Regions from separate parts of the Homo sapiens genome. Here region 2 is linked to region 1. The links are contacts of gene promoters, found by promoter capture Hi-C in blood cells and fetal thymus (Javierre and others, 2016). All regions are on one chromosome and are shown on one strand. The core of a region is centred on a gene start or on the middle of the fragment in contact, and the rest is flanking DNA. Distances in the headings are between cores, read along the strand shown. Region 1 holds the start of DNAH7 (dynein axonemal heavy chain 7). Region 2 has its middle 120 kb from the start of NABP1.

Region 1 (4,040 bases), core at 59-2,558:
TCCAAGAAATCACTGCCAAATCCAATGTCGTGAAGCGATTCTTCTAAGTTTTCTTCTAAGAGTTTTATAGTTTAAGACCTTACAGTTACATCTTTGATCAATTTTGAGATAATTTTGTATATGATGTTTTTAGGTAAAGGTCCAACTGCATTTTTTTCCGCATATGGACATTTAGTTTCCCCAGCATCATTTGTTGAAAATAAATTGTTAAGGTCACTATAGTCTTGTAGTAAGTTCTGAAATCAAGAAGTGTGAGTACTCCAACTTTGTTCTTTAATTTCAAGATTGTTTTGGCTATTTATGACCCCTTGGGGTTCCTTGTTAATTTCAGGATGGAATTCTGCCATTTCTTAGCATAAAACTTTTCAGTGGAGGTCAGTTGCTTTTGACATCCAAACTCCTGCCCTTTTATAGGGTCCTTTAAGATATATCACCTGCTTATCACCTCAGCTTCTTCTCTAGACTGGCTCCAATCCCCTTTATCCAAACCTACTCATCGACCTCTCAGAACCATTTTCACTGCTTCCAATAGCTATGCTCTCTTGTCTCAGGCCTTTGTATGTGACCTGCTTTTTGCCCGGCATTCTTTGCCTGGCATTTCTTCTTCCTTCACATTTCAGCTTCCACATCCCTTCCATGCCCTCCATGAGAAAATTAGTTGGTGCTTTATGTTCTCACTGAGGACTGCCATTCTTAGCACCGTCTCCACTACACGGTAAGTGCTTGGCTTGGACACCCCCCAGCCTGTGGCGAATGGATGTCTTGGTCACATTTGTGCTTAGCACACCACTTTTCATGTAGTAAACCATCTGTGAATGTTGGTTTCAAGAATTGTTGGAAGGTTCCTTTACTGGTATTCTTCCAAAGGATAGTTTTCTGGAGTGTGGGAAGAGTCAACAGCACAGGGGTTGGAAGCACATGAATAATGAAAGGTGTTTACTGGATCCTGCCTCGCATTACTCCACTCGCCCACATTAGCAATGAAATCTGTAATCATTTCATTCCAGTGTTTCTCCGAGACCTCTGAGGGGTTAAGGCAGCAGTCCTGGGCATCCGGCTTATTTAGAAGGAGGGTGCGGAAGTGTGAGGATCTACTTCAGTAATCAGAGGATATTGGAGGAGACCCACCCAGTGTCTTTGGTTATTCAACGCACACCTTAGACCTCACAACACTGGCAGCAGCGCCCCAGAAAGCTCCTCTTGCGGGACCGCGCGCCAGCTTCCGGGTCCAGCCCCAGAAGGAACAGATGACCGGAAATGGAACCTGCGCGGGCCCGTTGCTTAGCAACAAACGCTGCCCGGACGCTAGACGGCTCTGGTGCGGAGGGAGCTGAGACCGCTGCAAGTCCCGGGGCCCTGCCTCTATCGTCCTAGGGGTTCCGCGGGCAGGAGCAACCCAGAAGCACCGGTGAGGCCAGCGCGTCCTCGCAGCCATGAGCAGTGAGCAGGTGAGAGGGCTGCTCTTTGCCAGGCTCGCCGCCGCCGCGACGCTTCCCAGGCGTTTCGGAAGTGGTGGAAGCCCCTCCTGCCTAGCGAACTCCCCAGCTGTGACTCCGCGGTGTACAGCTTCCTTCACCCCACTTGTGGCCTGGGTTACTGAGCGCTTTCCGTGAATGCCCTTATAAGTTCCCTTCCCAGCTGTTTGCCCTTGGTCGTCATAACAACCAAACCTAGCCGCCTAGCGGCGCGCCAGCAGGGGGAGCCACAGCCCAGAGCACCCCCAGAGTGCTAATGGCGGTGTGCTTGGGTGAGAGGCGGCTCTGCGAGGAGTTGCAGCGGGTTTGGGTTCTAAGGTGGGAATCGAAGCCAACTCCTAGCCATGTGACTTTGGACAAATCTCTTAGTCTTTGTAAGCCTTAGTTCTCCCACCTCTTATGCAGAGCGGGGGAAACATCAGAACAACTTTTCTTCTTTTTGAGGTTGTTGTCAATTTCAAATTAGATACCATGCCATACCATAACTATACAATATTATACTATACATGAAAGGCCTTGGTAAGTGACATATGGCACTTCTTAAGATGATATTCCATGGTATGTGATAAAAGATGCACTTTGCAATAGCTGCTTTTCTTTCTCTTTTTTTCTCGTTTTTTTCCTTTCTGTCTTTCTCTCCTTTTTCTTCTAAGAATTCTTTCTTTATTGAACTTAAGAGCAACTAACAGAAAGGCAGAACAATGGTCAGTCGTCTTAATATCAGCACAGAATGGGAAGATATTAAACGTGGTCATTATTCTGGCTAGCTAGAAAATAACTCTAGCTTTCTACGTAGTGATGAATAAGGAAAAGGACTCTATAAACCTCCTGGAAGAAAAACAGTTGTTTTTAAGCCTGCAAATTTCATTTAGCTTTTAAACAATATTAAACGGTAATTATTTCTTTTTTATTGCTTTATAATGCTTTTTTCGGTAGTGTTAGAATTTATTGTGGAAACAGTATTAAAACGGATTTAGTCTCCTATCCATTGAGTTGTACATTACTAACAGAACTATGTGAAGATCCTGATTGGTTAGTTCATCAAATAAGTAATTAATACCTGAAATGCTCAAGAAAATTTGGTTTGAACCTTTTTAAAAAAATAAGTATAATTTAAGAACTAAGAAATGGACACTGATTCATATGCTAAAGTATAATTAGTATTGGTATTAATAATAAAAGAGTAAATGACAAGCAAAAAACAAAAAGTTCAGATACAAGTAACCAAAAACACTGAGCAATTGTTTAATAGATCTTACTAGTTTTTTTCTACATGATATTAATGTAATCAGATTTAAAAAATAACATTTGTTACTGTCACCATTATTATATATTGAGCAGCTTCTTTGCTTGTTGCCCAAGTTAGTCTTCGGCCAGATCTTGAACCATATCCTACGTTGTTAGAGTTTAAAATACACTTTTACCACATTTCCAATGGTATTTCTCAATAGCTGTTTTTCACAATTCCCCTAACTTACCCATCTACAACTAAAAAGTATCCACAAAAAACCCACCAGCCGTTAAGTTCTAAATTTTGCTTCATCTTTATAAAAGTGATGTTGGGAAATGACACCCTAGTCTCTCACTCCCCCTCCAGAAAGGTTGTGATTTATTGAAGAGGCAGCGGGATCTTAAAAGAATGGACATGATTTCCATTTTCCACTTACTATTTTTGAACAGCAGAGGGCCCTCTATCACTGTTTTGGTTGATTTGTAATTTAAAAACTAATCTTGAGAATTTCATTTATGCTAATTTAGAGTGTAGCTTTCCTTTGGAAGGATGAAAGTTTTTATGTTTTAACCTAAAACAAACAGAATGGATTAAACTTCTGGAAATGCCATTTTTTATGTGACATTTACTTGTATATTCATTCAGTTTGAGAAAGTGAGCAGGTGGTAAAATCGTATTTGCTGAAGGAGATTTTAACATATTCATCTCATTAGTGGAAGGTTGAGAGTGACATGGAATTTTTCAGGAATAGCAGTCTGGGCTTTTCTCTTAAATTAGGCATTTAGAAGAAATGTAAATCTTTTGCAATTGCTCATTTCATTTTTAAAATGAGTTAAAACTTTAAAAGGCATTTTTAGTATCAGTTGAAAAACTTTGAGAGGTTTAAAGGCACAAATATCCGAAGACCAGGAAGCTCCCCACAGATATACTACAGATTGTGGGCAGAGAAGAGGAAAAAGCTGTCAGTCTTTTTCTACCCCAGCACTTTTTCTAGTTATGGAATCAAGTAATTTGTGTTTATATGATGTGATGCTCATTCCATTTTCCTTCATCATGTTTTTGAAATGTCATTGCTTAAAAAGGGGAAAGAATGAAAAAAGTTGGATATGAGACCAACAGCATGGTGATAACTTTAACAACCAGAACTCAAACGTGTGACAACTGACAACTATATTTAAATCAGTACTATGAAATTTTGAGAGGTTATTGTTGATTTAACCAGACACATTTATAGATTCTAGTCATTTGATCAGGAGGGTTAATACTTGGGCTATCCCAGGTTTATGACATCTCTTCCAGCAGTCAAGTAGGTGAAAATCAGTGAAGTAAAAACA
Region 2 (4,087 bases), core at 453-2,952, 4.5 Mb after region 1:
GTTCCGCTCTCTTTACTGGTCACACACACACTTGGGTAGGTTCATATTTTCACTCATGCCCCGTTCCCATACATCTCTTAGAGCCCATCAACAGCATTTGTTGTCATTGTCGATGCATCCTGTCCACTGTCACCCCGCAAAGCTTTGAAAAGGAACCCTATCTCTTCCGGAGGCTCCTTCCCCATCAACCCAAAATGACCTCATTTTTTTAGACATGAATATGCCTCAAGGGTTCCTTGAGGGTGAGCTATGTACGCCTAATTCATGACTGAATGATAATGATGCTAGCAGACATCCCAGAGGCTTGTCAGGGGCCTGGCAATGTGTTTAGCTCCCTGCAGAGGCTAACTCACCTAACCTTTACAATTCCCTCACAGCCTAAGTGCTAGTGTTATCTTCATTTCACAGAGGGGACATCTGAGGCTCAGGGGACACCAGAGTTGGAGGGAGTTTAAGCAGAATGGCCCAGTGTGACTCAGCTAGGTAGTAGCAGAGGCAGGATGTGAACCCATGCAGTCAGGCCCTCGGAGCCACGTTCTGACCACGGTACAGTCCTCTCCGTATGTGTGAAGACAGACAAAACCCTGTGGGCTACTTCACCCAGCAGGCCAAGAAATAATTACATATCCACCCAGGTATTATTGAGAGGAAAATTCAGCAAATATTTTGATCTGAGCATTTTTCAATTCTAACCATTTAAAAGTAACTTTCATTCTATCAGCAGGAGAATCACAGATTTCTATGCTGTAAACAGCAAAGGATCGGGTCATACATGTAAAACTTTAACCATTTTCTTTATTTTATAGAGGAGAAAAGGAGTTTTCTTACGCTCATAGGCATTTTCTCAGTGAGTTAAGGAGTCTTTCCTTAGGCACACAGATGGGCCTTACAATAGCTTTAAGTCTACTGGAAGACTTAATTTTCTGAATCATGCTCAAAGACTAGTGCTTTACTCATTCTAGGCCCCACACAGTTTCTCATAAAACATTTCGCTTCTAAGTGAGTTGTGAAAATGGGACTCACAAAATGATGACAGAAATACTGCTTTAAAAACCTTTCCAGAAGGTTTCACAGAAATACAATAGAATATATGAGAAGAAAATGTCTAGTTGTTATTACGAAGGTGTAAAGGAAATGAGAGAGGGTTACTTTTTACTGGAAACAGCCAGAAAGATTCACTTAAGACCATAATTTACTCATATAATCTGTTTTATTTAAAAATAATATTGAAATAGTACTAAAATAATCTTAATAGAAATTATGCAAGACACAACTAACATTAATTCTAGTGATTTGTACTAGATAAAAATAAGGAATTACTATGAGCTATTGAGAGAAATTAAAGGAACATTTTCATCATGAAATTTCAATCAAAGGAGAATAACAAGAAGACATCTTAGTCATGCCAACCTTTGGAAAATATACTCCCTGACCACTATTTCTGAAATTATTAAGGATGTTCAACAAAACATATAGACAAATCCAATTAAGGAGGAAACTTACAAAGATATAACAAAGAGGGAAGCCAGCCAAGCAGTGCAATGCAAACAAAGCCCACCGTGACAGATGGAGAGCAAAGCCATAAGGAGTCCACACTGCACCATTCAATAAATAGTATGGTCAAGAGGGCATATCCTAGTGATATGACAAATGAGCCTATTTTCCTCTAACAATTGAAATAAGGTAAGGCCAATACAACCTTTAAAGAAACAAAAATGTTTGCAAGAAAGCCATGTACACACACAAATAAACCAAACATTGCCTAATTTTGAGCATGTTAGAGAACAGGATGCATTTGACCTTGATGATTGTCCTTATAAGGACATGAAGTTAGTCACAGAGGATGACATGTCTTTCCTGCTGACCAACCACACCGCTCAGTTCTTCACCAAATACTTTGTTTAATTATACCACCAAAGCTCTTATTTACAGTTATAGGACTGAACGTAAATTACTAACCTTGACAACATAAAAATAGAGTTTACCCAGCCCAAATTGGGAAATTATGGAGAAAAGAGGTGCAGGAAAGTGTGAGAAGATAATTTCTTCATCTCGTCTAATGAGAAGGAAGAGATACTATTAAAAAGTAGAGACTTCAGTGTATTATTTAATTATGAAGGCAACAAGTATAGAGCAACGTCCCACTAATAAATATTTCCCCTGACACTTTACATGACTTAAAATTTGTCATTTACTTCAGGTTCATATTATCTTAGAAAAATAAGTGTTCTGGCTTGGCACAGTGGCTCACGCCTGTAATCCCACTGCTTGAGGGGCTGAGGCAGGAGGATCGCTTGAGCCTAAGAGTTCAAGACCAGCCAGGACAACACAGAGAAACCCTGACTCTACAAGGAATACAAAAATAAGTTGGGCGTGATGGTGCATGCCTGTTGTCCCAGCTACTTGGGAGGCTGAAGTAGGAAGATCACTTGAACCCAGAAGCTCAAAGCTGCAGTGAGCCACGATCACGCCACTGCACTCTGGCCTGGACCACAGAGTGAGACCCTGTCTCAAAAGAAAAAAGAGAAATAAGCATTCTGTCCCCTCTTCAGAGCATGATTCTCTCTCTGATTAAGACTCCTCTAATTTCAAGAAGCTCCTCCTGATTATTCAAGATGGTTCAAATTTAGAAGGCACCCTTGATCCTCTTACTTTTTTGTGACTAGCACAAGTACTGGGCCATAAAACAGAGGGTCCTCAAAGAATAACCATATTCCCTCACCATCAAAATCCTGCCATTTGGCTGATCAATCCCACCCCACACACACCAAAGCATGCTGTGGTTCAACTCCAAGACTTTTGACTAGTGTCTGATACTTTTAAATGCCTCTGTTACCTACTTCTCTGAGACATCAGACAAGTCTGAACCTATCCCAACTTGAGTTTCCCCCACGGTAAATTAGAGGCATTGGTATCCATCCCACAAGGTTGTACTGATAATCAAATGAGATAACATACAAAGTGCCCAGCACATTGTAGATGTTACAACTTCCTTTCTTCCCTTCAATAGATGAAATTTATTGTGTGAACAACGAAGTGTTCTTAATATGTTTGTTATTTTTTCTCCGTTTAAACATCTGTAGTTGTCAGAACTTTTGAGAAAGGTTCTTTCATGTCTAAACGTCCACGATTCTATGGCCAGTACGCTAATTAAAGGAGAACCATCCTAGTTCAGCCTCTCCCAGGTTAGACCAAAAAGTGGATTGCTGCTGCCACCTGGTGGCTACAAGATAATTTGAGGCAGCATTTCGCGGAAGCTTGTGAGTGCTAAACACCCAACCCCCACACACAATTAGAGGGAGCCTGGGAAAGTGAGGACGCCCCCACTTGTTTTCTTTTCTTTTCTTTTTTTTTTTTTTTTTTGAGACAGGGTCTCGCTTTGTCACCCAGGCTGGAGTACAGGGGCACAATCTCAGCTCACGGCAACCTCTGCCTCCCAGATTCAAGCGATTCTCGTGCCTCAGCCACCCCAGTAGTTGGGATTACAGGCACGCGCCACCACGCCTGGCTAATTTTTGTATTTTTAGTAGAGACAGGGATCTCAGTATGTTGTCCAGGCTGGTCTCGAACTCCCAGGCTCAAGCGATCCTCTTGCCTCAGCCTCTCAAAGTGCTGGGATTACAGGCACGAGCCACTGCGCCGGGACGACCCCAATTATTTTCTAAACGAGTGTCGGTGACAGGTGAAGAACACACACTGGTTTGTTTCCATCTTTGGGAATGTAAATCAAGGTCAAGACTGACCTTGAACAAAAATGTAAAGTTGGCAAATGCCGACTTCAAGGCTCTGAGATTCTTTCCTGTGCCTCTCCTCCACACGTTCTTTGGCTTCCCTAGTCCTCAGGACATTTATTCTACTTGTTCTTCCTCAAATCAAAAGCTGTTCAGAAAATTTTTTTTGATAAAATGATTCACTCTAGGTATAAGTAACTAAGATAATTAATGGAGAGGCCATTAGGCTGAGCCAGCTCCAGGGCCCTGGATTCCTACAGAAGCAAACCGAAACCCAAGTATCAATGGTCATATTCTAGGAAAATGCAACTTCAGCTTTAAAACTCAGGAGCCACCAATTAACCCTTTTAAAGCCT

Evidence for each region. Contacts are between HindIII fragments. The CHiCAGO score rates a contact against its expected background, and 5 or more counts as called.
Region 2: a fragment that was not itself captured here is called in contact with the fragment with the promoter of DNAH7 in region 1 in 1 of 17 cell types (total B cells); the score reaches 5.3 in total B cells.

Annotation. Positions count from the first base shown.
Region 1 is chr2:196,066,105-196,070,144 of GRCh38, reverse strand. It overlaps DNAH7 (dynein axonemal heavy chain 7), which reads left to right and starts at 1,308. Exons shown (of 65, transcript NM_018897.3): 1 at 1,308-1,448. The coding sequence starts at 1,434. RefSeq lists enhancers at 1,397-1,486, 1,967-2,016. The HindIII fragment of the contact is 14,129 bases long and covers 1-4,040 here.
Region 2 is chr2:191,554,401-191,558,487 of GRCh38, reverse strand. No RefSeq gene overlaps it. Among named protein-coding and RNA genes, the nearest start is that of NABP1, 120 kb to the left of the region's middle. The HindIII fragment of the contact is 3,115 bases long and covers 145-3,259 here.